Regions from separate parts of the Homo sapiens genome. Here all the other regions are linked to region 3. Evidence: promoter capture Hi-C in human tissues and cell types (Jung and others, 2019). All regions are on one chromosome and are shown on one strand. The core of a region is centred on a gene start or on the middle of the fragment in contact, and the rest is flanking DNA. Distances in the headings are between cores, read along the strand shown.

The links. The method cuts DNA at HindIII sites, captures the fragments that hold promoters and counts their contacts. A contact is called where the count stands out against the background at its distance.
Region 1: a fragment that was not itself captured here is called in contact with the fragment with the promoter of UBR5 in region 3 in 1 of the 25 tissues and cell types used here (dorsolateral prefrontal cortex).
Region 2: a fragment that was not itself captured here is called in contact with the fragment with the promoter of UBR5 in region 3 in 1 of the 25 tissues and cell types used here (heart left ventricle).

What each region holds. Positions count from the first base shown.
Region 1 is chr8:101,140,583-101,144,054 of GRCh38, reverse strand. No RefSeq gene overlaps it. Among named protein-coding and RNA genes, the nearest start is that of LINC03090, 14 kb to the right of the region's middle. The HindIII fragment of the contact is 5,741 bases long and covers 1-3,472 here.
Region 2 is chr8:103,504,680-103,508,675 of GRCh38, reverse strand. The region is part of intron 1 of RIMS2 (regulating synaptic membrane exocytosis 2); the gene reads right to left. Among named protein-coding and RNA genes, the nearest start is that of RIMS2, 6.1 kb to the right of the region's middle. The HindIII fragment of the contact is 5,012 bases long and covers 51-3,996 here.
Region 3 is chr8:102,410,302-102,413,995 of GRCh38, reverse strand. It overlaps UBR5 (ubiquitin protein ligase E3 component n-recognin 5), which reads left to right and starts at 1,296. Exons shown (of 59, transcript NM_015902.6): 1 at 1,296-1,823. The coding sequence starts at 1,762. LOC105375683 (a long non-coding RNA gene) reads right to left here and starts at 1,657. Exons shown (of 5, transcript NR_168428.1): 1 at 985-1,657. RefSeq lists enhancers at 32-141, 703-972, 1,347-2,125, 2,603-2,682, 2,126-2,904 and 1 more and silencers at 1,123-1,322, 1,353-1,432, 1,493-1,932. The HindIII fragment of the contact is 18,623 bases long and covers 1-3,694 here.

The DNA of each region.
Region 1 (3,472 bases), core at 310-2,809, 1.3 Mb after region 3:
TTGACAATAACAGTTCACAATCAGTTCTTCTAGGACCATCTGGTGTTGATTCTCTGACCACACCTCCTGAGGCCTCATCAGAGTACAGAGTCCACTGCACTTGCGGATGTGTAATTAGCTGGTATTTCCTTATCATGTTTCTATTTCCTCGTGGATATTTATTCAAAAACAATTTCTAATAACATTCTTTAATAACCTTTTTCCTAATTTTCAAAGCAATGCAAGCCCATTTATACACAGAAAAGCATAAAGCAAACTCTCACACTTATAAGAGGTATTTCTGAGGTCTACCCAGTCCTTCAGGGCAGGGCTTTCTGTTTTGATCACAGCCAGCCCCATCTAGAGCACTTGGAACAGCTCAGCATACCGTAGGCACTCAATAATGAGTATTTGTCAGATGAATGTTCTTGAGCAGGTACCTGGTCTCCGCAGCCTCAGCTGCTTGCTGGGTGAGGGAAGGAGCTTCCCGGGTACCACCAAGACCCCTGAGCTCCTGGGCATGCCCTGGTGGCCGCCACTGTCCTGGGAATTAGTGCCATCTCTGTCTCCCAGTACTGCACACCCCTCTGGGCCCTGTGGCTACTAGGCATTTCTTCTGCATTTGGGGTCCCGGGCCCTGGGGCTTGCTGGGGCCACAGACTGTTTCTGAGCTTAAGAGGCCTGGTTTTCCAGCATTCTCCATGCATGCTCCCTTCAGAACTGGACAGGAAATCGCCCCCTCCCTTTTTTATGAAGGGTGGAAAGCCGGTGGCCTGACCTACTGATGACCTGGTATTAGTGAAAGCTCTTTATGTCTTTAATATTTTGATGCTTGCTTTAACTGTTCCCCCATGGACCATTTAACTGTGGCTTAGCCTGACTTCTTTCCTCTTCACTTTTAAGATGCAAAAGAAAAATGATTAGGAAAGAGCCTGATATGGTTTGGATGTTTGTCCCCTCCAAATCTCATGTTGGAATGTGACCTCCAGCGGTGGAGGTGGGCCTAGTGGGAGGTGTTAGGGTTGCGGGGGCATAACCCTTATGAATATCTTAGTGCTGTCCTCATGATGATGAGTGAGCACTCACTCTGAGTTCACAGGAGATCTGGTTGTTTAAGAAGAGCCTGGCACCTCCTCCCTCTCTTGCTTTCAGTCTCTCCACGTAATACTCTGGCTCCCCTTTGCCTTCTGCCATGATTGGAAACTTCCTGAGGCCTCACCAGAAAGAAGCAGGTGCTGGGCCTATGCTTTGTGCACAGCCTGCAGAACCACGAGCCAAATAAGCCTCCTTTCTTTATAAATTACCCAGTCTCAGGCATTCTTTTAAAGCAACGCACACGGACTAATACAGAGCCTAACCAGGAAAGCCTGCTCACAGCCCTTCTACCGCCGCAGTGAATACAGGGGCCCCACCTGGGTGCACCCCCAGGCGTGGCACTGAGAGGAATCAAGTCCCTGGGTAGGAGCTTCTGTGTGGGTGGCTCCCTCTATCACCCCCAGGGAGGAACTGGGAGATGGCAGAGGCCAAGACTTCATCCTGTGACTCAGAGAGAGGACAAAAGCGGTCAGAGCCTGTCCATCTTCAAGAAGCCCGCGCCCACCACAGGGAGAGGCTTTCAGGATGCATGGGAGCTGTCTCCCGGCCTCCCATCCCCAGCCCCCAGGTAGCACGGCTCCCCTTTAACTGGCTCTGCAGAGTGGGCATTTGTATGACATTTCATTTTCTTTTCGGAGGTTACACAGCCAGAAGTTTGAAAGCCCCTGCCATCCAGGGAAGCCAGCAGTTACCCAGGAAGGGCCTTTTCTGGTGGCAGCACCTGGAGGTGGTCTTTTTCTACTTCAGCTTTGCAAGTCCCAGAACTCCACTTTGTCAGGACACCCAGAATAGGTCAGTTCTGAGCTACTGACTTAACCAGATCCACAGAGAATAAAGAATTGATCAGAGCACCAGTACATCTGTTCACAACTGAGAATGCCCCTTCTCAGGGATCAGAACATTAATGACCAGCATTGGGAGCCACCTGGCTAATTCTTCCTAGTATCAAAGCAGCCAGGGCCAGGTGCAGTGGCTCATACCTGTAATCCCAGCACTTTGGGAGACCAAGGTTGGCAAATCACTTCAGGTCAGGAGTTCGAGACCAGCCTGGCCAGCATGGTGAAACCCTGTCTCTACAACAAATACAAAAATTAGCTGGGTGTGGTGGCACACACCTGTACTCTCAGCTACTTGGGAGGCTGAGACAGGAAAATATCTTGAACCCGGGAGGCAGAGGTTGCAGTGAGCCGAGATTGCACCACTGCACTCCAGCCTGGGCAGCAGAGCAAGACTCTGTCTCAAAAAAAAAAAAAAAATTGTAGCCAGGATGCCACATTAGTAATCAGAAGACTGTTCTGTGGAGCTAGAATAAAAAGCAAGGAAGGTGGATTCAGTCAATGGCATTTTATCCAGGCCATGGTGGACCTGATGATTCGTGTCTTTCTCAACAACAAACTCCTCTCTCCTGCCTGGAAAGCTGCAGCTACTGAATCCAGGTAGCTCCTGGATGGCGCTGAATAGAACCTGCCTGGAGCAGACAATGTTCTTGCTACCCCCTGGCCAATTCTTACTTCTTGCTTCCCCAAAGAACCCTGCCTCTCCTGGTACTTATCCTCCTCGGCCTAGGTAGAGGCTTCAGGGAGGTGCGTCCCATCTGAGGACCCAGGAGATGAATCTTTACTGGTCCAAACAGTGGATCTCCTCCCTGTTGGACCCAGTACCCTCTTTTTATCACAAATATTTTTATATTTTTTTGCCTCAAACTCCTGGGCTCAAATGATCCTCCCAGCTCAGCCTCCTGAGTAGCTGGGACTATAGGCACACACCGCCAGGCTCAGCTAATTTTCTTTTTTTAATTTTTTGTAAGGACAGGGTTTTTTCTATGTCGCCGAGGCTAGTCTTGAACTCCTGGGCTCAAGTAATCCTACCACCTCAGCCTCCCAAAATGTTGGGATTATAGGCATGAGCCACTGCACCCAGCCCTACAAATATTTTATAATGTCCCTTTTACTACACTGAAATGAAATTTGTATACAACATAAACTATCTGTACACATAATTTTAAAAATCAAATAACTATTATGAAGTGGAATTAAAAGAGAAATAATGTACAATAAAACAACATGTATTTCAACATGCAAATTCTTGGCAGAACTGTGCTAAAAGAAATAACATTGCAGGTGCCTGGATCCATACCTAGAATCACAGTCAATGTGGCAGCCACTGGGGCAGGCCCATCGGGTGTATTGTACTGGAGGCTCGAATTCCATGAGTAATGTTGACATTGCTAATGTGATTTTCCAAAACAGTGAACAACTCCTGGAAAAGTTCTAAACAAAACAAAGCAAGATCTTCTCTCGATGTGCACAGCAATTGCTTTCCTGGAAAATACAGTGTGTTTTTTAAATACTTTGGGTTTATATATGAGAGTTTGGTTTTAGCTCAGATCACTTTGAAG
Region 2 (3,996 bases), core at 1,307-3,806, 1.1 Mb before region 3:
AGAAGTCTAATTATATTGTGTCACTGCTTAAAATCCCTCCATGACTCCCTATTGCCAAATCCAAAGAATAGCATAGAAGGCTTTTTAGGCTCTGAACCTTGCCATCTCTCCAGTCTCCTCTATTGACGCATCACCATTTAAATCTGTGCTCTTCTGAACCACTTCAAGCAAACTTCTTGACCATGTCCTGCATCGTCTTCTTTTTTTTTTTTTTTTTTAACAAATGAAAGGTTTTGGGGGCAAAGAGGAATTGGGAGTTTTAAGATTTTTGCTTAGAGAACAATCTGCCCAGCTAACATCTACTCATCATTTGAGATTCAGCCTAGATGGCATCTTCCCAGGACTGAATCACGTGCTCCTCTTGTAAAATATATCCATGATACACTGTAGTGCACAGTAGTCTCCTGGTACTTACCATGCAAAATTTTCATGTGGTTTATCACGTTTCTTACAATGAGCTCCTTAAGAATTACCTGATAATGGTTAAAATTATTTCAACTCCCAGAGATATCTGTATTTCATTAGGTGACTAGAGAATACAAAAGTTTTTAATATCTAGCAGTGAAACTTTCAGATATTTTAACAGGAAAAACTATGTGACACCATGTAATATAACACAATATAATCAAACAATACCATAGAGGCAATAAACTACTAGTAAGATTAGTCTGACATATTTTTTACCATGGTTATAATGTACTAAAAACACCTTTACAGTATTTTTTCATGACACTTTACATTTTTATGTGTTCATATGATTATGGTTGGCCTTAGATTATCTGTCCCTGGAGGGCATGAACTATTTCTATCCAAAGCCTTCTGTGTACTCTTTATCACTCATCTGTGCTAAACACAATGGAAATGTATCAATTCTCTTAAAGGATCACTTTTACAGCCAAATTTTCCCTAATTCCTAATATTCCTTAAATTTAAAAATGATATCTATCACAATGTTCTTCTAGTTTCTAGTCAAAAAAGATATGCTCTTAGTCCAAAAGAAAGATAAGCTGCAATCATACACAAACACTGTAAGTTTCCTTCCATGTAAAATAAGCAAAATTAGGCATGTTTAAAAATTACATTTGATTTCAAAAATAAGGACACTACTACATAAGCAAATCTTTTTTTAAGATTATTGGAGTTCACCTTGAAAGTTTGTACCACCTAGATGAACATAATATTTCATTCCCAATGTGCGTTCATTCACCCGATTAATATTTTTGAGTACTACTATGTGTAAGGCATTGTATTACATTAGAAGTTGAAGCTGCATTAGTGAACAAAACAGACATGGTGTGTGCTCTCTTTGAGTTGATAATCTAGCAGAGTGGACAGACCATAAACAAGTAAATAAATCATTATAAATTTTGATAAGCATAATTGGGGAAATATAAAAGGTATTGTTATAAAGAATAATGGAGAGAATCTACATAAGAAAGAGTGGTCAGAAAAGAGCTCTCTAAAGATCCAAATTTGAAGCTAAGCCAGAAGGATGAGAAACCGGCAATCATACAAAGCTTAAGTGTATTTGAGGGGCGATGTGAAGATCAGCATTCTAAGCTCAATAACCATACTTCAGAATTAGCTTAACCTAATACGGTTCTCTGGGTTCTTAGATACAATGTGAATAAGACAAATAGGTAAATATAGATTTTAGTTAAATAATAGAGTAAAAAGTTTAACCAAGGCAAATCTAAAGTCAATTACAAAGTAGTTTCCACAAGTAAGTCCCCTCAATTCACCTTTGACTATCAGTATCTTGCCGATTACCAATAACTTGATGTCAGTGCTATTTTCACTGCTATGTCTTAGTTATCAGGCTCCTTAAGAATGGTATTTGCTGAGGAAACTATTTTCAAGTTGTCACCCACCCTCTCCCCATCCCTAGTCTTCTAAACAAATAATGAAGTCGCTTAAAAGCCCTCCTGGCATATTTTGACTTCATAATAGACAAGGAAAAGAATCTCTCAATTTTTAGAAAATAAGAAAATTTCACCCAGCAATCCTATGATAAGGTTTAAAGAGTGCTATCTATGTCAGTTAACAATAATGATTATTTATTGCACCACTACTTATGCCAGGATACTTAGTCTATAACAATCACAATCCTTCAAAATAGGTGTTATTACTCAAATAGTATAGATGAGGAAACTCAGAGTTTAATAATAACAATCACAATCCTTCAAAATAGGTGTTATTACTCAAATAGTATAGATGAGGAAACTCAGAGTTTAATAATATAAGCAAAACGTTACCATTATTAATTAGTAAAGTAAGGTGTCAAGTCAAAGTTCATCTGGTTTATCACACTTGCTTCCACTATCTCTTTCTTCATCGCACAATATAATTAGTTCTTTATCAAAATCTATTGTCAAGAGGAAGATATTATTTAATTGCCCTTATTTCAAAATAGAATATATATAAATTTATTGGGTACTCTTTCATAAAATATAAGTCAATTTTTTGTTTGCTTGTTTTCTTATAAAATGTCAATCAATTTTTTAGAATGCATTTTGAATCCTTAAAAACTATAGTTTTTCATTTTTTTGGCAATGGCAACAGTGGTTTACATATGCAATTTTTATTTAAAAGTATTCATGATTCAATTGGTACTTTTTAAAAATACTAGAATAGGGAAGATCATTCTAAGAAGATCACAAACTCAAAATCCATAAAACAAAACTACAATAAATTCAATTTTTTTAAATCGTGACCAGTAAAAAAGGCATAAACAAGGTCCTAAAACAAATAACATGTAAGAGAGCCTCCACAAATCACTAAAAATTACTAATAGAAAAGGGAATACAAATGGCTGTAACCAAATTTTTTTAAAAAGGCTCTCAATCTTTCTGACAAGAAAATTGCAAATAAGTCTACAGTGGCATCTTTTTCATTGAAACATTGGTAAAGATTGCCATACACTGAGTTGGCGAGGATGTGGGAAAGTCCCCTTAGTACACACCACTTATACACACTTCCTCTACAAAAGTAAATTTCACAATATTTATTAAATTTAAAATATACTAACCCTTTGGCCCAACAACTTTGTTTCTAGGAATCTGTCTCAAATATACATTCATACATGTAGGAAATGCATGTACGAAGATATTTATCACAGATAATACTGTGATAAATACTAAAAATTTCTAATGACAAAATACTTAGAAAAAAACTTAAATACCCACAAATATGGTACTAGTTAAAGAAATTACAGAATATTCATTAAAAGGGATAGTATATATCCTATATCCATTAAGGTTAACGAGGCAGCTATACAGTCACAGATGTGGAACTGACCTCTTATAAAGCAAACTGCAGGACACATTTCTGTTTTTACGTTTACATCCATCCATACATACATGTATGAGCACACACATACACACATATACAGACACACACAATATTATATATACACATGTATTTATTCTTATGCATAGACTGTCTCTAGAAGAGTATACAATATAAAATATACTAGTAACAGTAGTTGGCTCTGGGTAGGGGAAATAGGTAGCTAAGAAATTTGGGGGCTGCGGGTTGCTCACACCTGTAATCCCAACACTTTGAGAGGCCAAGGCAGGAGGATCACTTGAGCCCAGGAGTTCAAGACCAGCCTGGGCAACATAGGGAGACCTCATCTCTACAAGAATAAAAAATAAATTAGTCGAGTGTCATGACACCTGCCTGTGGTCCCAGTTACTCCAGAGGCTGAGGTGAGAGAATCGCTTGAGCCCAGGAGGTCGTGGCTGCAGTGAGCCGTTATTTCGCCATCTCACTCCAGCCTGGGCCTCAAACCAAGAAAGACCCTATCTCAAAAAAAAAAAAAAAAAAAGAAAGAAAGAAAAGAAAAGAAAGAAAAAAAAAGATTTTATTTCAAAATTTTATAAATTAACTTTAGAAAATACTTTTAAAATTGAATTATTTTAAAAAATAGAGAACTGCTCACTATATATGTGCTAAATATATACTAATTGTTATCCTAACCTATCAGGAAAATTT
Region 3 (3,694 bases), core at 47-2,546:
GTTTACAGGCGCGCACAGCCATGCCTGGCTAATTTTTGCATTTTTAGTAGAGATGGGGTTTCACCAAGTTGGCTAGGCTGGTCTCGAACTCCCAACCTCAGGTGATCCGACATCCTCGGCCTTCCAAAGTGCTGGGATTACAGGCGTGAGCCACTGTGCGCCGTGGCCAAAACTCTGAAAGTGTCTTATAGTAGAAACTCGGTATAAAAGATCCTATCTCGGCCAGGCGTGGTGGCTCAGGCCTGTAATCCCAGCACTTTGGGAGGCCGAGGCGGGTGGATCACCTGAGGTCAGGAGTTCGAGACCAGCCTGGCCAACATGGTGAAACCACATCTCTACTAAAAAAGAAATACAAAATTAGCCGGACGTGGTGACACATGCCTGTAATCCCAGCTACTCCATAGACTGAGACAGGAAAATCGCTTGAACCCGGGAGGCGGAGGTTGAGGTGAGCCGAGACCGCGCCATTGCACTCCAGCCTGGGCAACAAGAGCGAAACTCCGTCTCGGGGAAAAAAAAAAAAAAAATAATAATTTTCCGTTCTGATTCCACTGATCATAAATTGAACTCCTTTGTAGAACAGGTTTATCATCTTTCATTTAAAAGTAATAAAAAATCACGAATCATTTATATCAGGAAATTAGTGGAAATTTCCACATTTTGTCTTTGGGCATGTGATGGTGGTGAGGAAACTGGGGAGACCGAGGTAATAGAAGTTGCTGCAAAGCCAACTCCAGGATCCTACTATCTCCTTCTGGAAAGGCCCTTACATAATTTCCTTACTTTTCCAATAAAAGGCTGTATATGTCTTGCCCCTTAACTGATTTTACCAACTTCACCATAAATACAACTGCGGATGAAGGATGAGAAGCAACAAGAAACCCCTAAGGATCCGCCAAATAATTAGGGCTGCCCCAGGGGAATCCGAGCGAAAGAACACAAGAGCCCCTCTTCCTCCTCGCCTCCTCTGGGACACACACTTACCCTCCCTCCCGGCAGGTTAGCCCGCAGCCTCCTCCTTCCCTAACACGTGCTCTCCGGAACACTCACTCTGGAGACATCCCACCCCCGGCGGGGCTGGGCTCGGGAGCCGAACGGACCAATCGGCACGCGCCTTACAGCGTCGTGGCCCGACAACGTTGAGCAGCCCAATCGAGGGGGCCTTGCCGCCCGTTTCCCGGAGCCCCGCCTCTCGCCGCCGCGCCCCCGCCCGCCGGTCTCCTCCCTCCTCCTCCTCCCGTTTGCCCCTCCCCCGCCGCTCCGGAGCGGAGCCTGCGAGACGGAGAAACTGGGGCAGAAGTGAAGATGGCGGCGGCAGCTTCTCGCTAGTGACGCGCGGTGCGGGCTCATCTCCTTCCCCTCCTTCCTCACCTCCCCTAGTCCGGACCCCGTCCGCCGCCGGGACCAGACCGTCCCCGTAGCCCGCAGCCAGCAGCCGCCCCTCTCCTCCCCCGGCCGCCCCTCTCCCAACGCCCGTCTGCCGCTGGCCGGCGGCGCGCCCCTGGTCCCGGCCGCCTGCCTCGCACTCCGCGCTGTCGCCGGGGGAGCGGGTGGCGTGTGGATTCGCCCTCCTGCCCGCCCCTCCGGGCCGCGGACACACGCCCGGCAGGGAGGCGGCGGCGGCCCCTGCGTATTTGCTTCCCTCCATTTGGGGACTGGGAGGCGGCGGCGGCTGTGGGTTTTGGGGAGGGGTAGAGGGCTGGGGGGCGGGCGAGAGCGGGAGGGGGCCGCCCTCGAGTGGAGGACGAGAAGGAAAGCACCATGACGTCCATCCATTTCGTGGTTCACCCGCTGCCGGGCACCGAGGACCAGCTCAATGACAGGTAATAGGGCTGGCGGGTCGGCGGGCGCGGGGGGAGGGGCGCCCTTCCCTCCCTCCCCTCCCCCACGGGCCGTGCCGGGCGGGTGCGGGTGTTTACGCGCCGGCCGGCCAGCTGGGGTGGGGTGCGGGGGTCCTTACTGCCTCCTGCTAGGCTCCTTCCGGGGCAAACTTCTCATCCCGGGGGCAGGGGGCCGCGGGGGGAGCGCGGTGTAGACGGGACTCGCGGTGTAGACTGGAGAGCGCTCTGTAAACCCCCTTCCCCCTCCCGCAAGGAGCGGCGTTGAACTCGGCGGAGATGGGGGGGTGGTTTCTGGCTCCCGGGGGGCAGGCGGTAATTACTGCCCGGCCAAGGCCCGAGGAATCCATATTAGTCAAAGTTGAATTGAGACAGACAATGCGGATGGGGGATGGTGGAGGTAAAAAGAGAGGGAAGAGGAGAAGCGGGGCCAGGGGCCCCGGGGTGGGCTGGGCTGGGCTTGTCCCGGGCCCCCGGCAGCTGTGTCCGGTGGGGTGGTCTGGACCTGGGGATCCCGGGGTCGGGTTGGGGAGAGAAGCCGATTCCCGGCAGATTGCTGGGAGCGGGCGGGGGGTGGGGGGAAGGTGATAGTTGGGGGAGGGAGTGAGGGAGGAAGCGCCATGATTATTGTTATTATTATTAAATTTGAGCCCCTGCAGTGAGGTTTGCCTGCCCCGGGAGGGGATGGATTCAAGCGGGGGTGGGGAAGTGCATTGGATTCCCTTTACTCTCCTCCTGAAATGGTGCTGGCAGCTCCTGCTACTAGCCCCTGTGGTGCGAGCTTTTTTGTTTCCTTTTCTATTCTAATGATAGTGTTTTCCTGAGTTGTAATTTGACAGCTGAAAACCGTGCGTAGAGTGTCAAAGGAAAACTCTTACGTTTGCAGTTCGCAATGCTGCTTTTCTTAACACGCTGTAAATTTCTGGGTTGGGTTTGCTATGGGCGGAGGATGAATTATGATTTTATTTTATGTTTTGTCTTTTATAGGCTGTTTTGGTTTGGATTTCTCCTTTTCTTCCGCCACCGTTCCTTGCCAGTTTAGGATATTGAATTGCAGTGCCGCATGCTCTCAGGGAACTGAGATAAGGCAGGAAAAGTTCCTTCACTGTTGGAAAACAGACTCAGGAGGTTGAGGGAGGCCTCCATTAAAGCATGTCTTAGAATCTAAGACTCAGATCTAATGATGGGCTAAATGTTTACAGGATCACAAAGTGGAGCATTTTAAGTCTTCCTCTCTCCCAGTACTTCACTGCTCTCTACATTTCTTTTGCGTATAGAAGGCCATCTGGTCCCAAGTTTAGAAGTTACATAGAATTTTTGCTAAGTGACCGGGTGACTTAAGTTGCATGATGCCCTGTTTGTCATGCGCTTCCCAGAGGGAGGAAGAGGCCTAACTTGCTGCTGAGATACTGGCCTCTTGTGTCAGTGTATCTAACCGCCTCAAGTGGAGCAGACAGCTTTTAAATCCAGAGCTGGCGGTTTAGTTTCTGCACTTGGTTCGGATTTGCCTAATCTTTGCTGTAGCCATATTGTATTTAACATGTTTGGGAATCTTTTGAAATACTTACTGAAAATACTAACTACTCAGAGTTGTCACATAGTTCCTTTAAATTCTGAAATAACTTTTTAGTTATTTAACATTTTGTTATGTGGTTCTTAGCCTGACTTTACTTCATTAAAGATCTTTTGGAGACATTAACATAAAATTTTTTGGTAAAATTTAGAAACAGGCTAGTAGTGAGGATAGCTCTACGGTCATTAACAGAACCATGTTGGTAGTGCTTGTCTTGTTACTTAGAAAACCGCACCAGAGAGAAGAGAGGTAGGGCATGTTTTCTATATTAGTCCTAACTTTA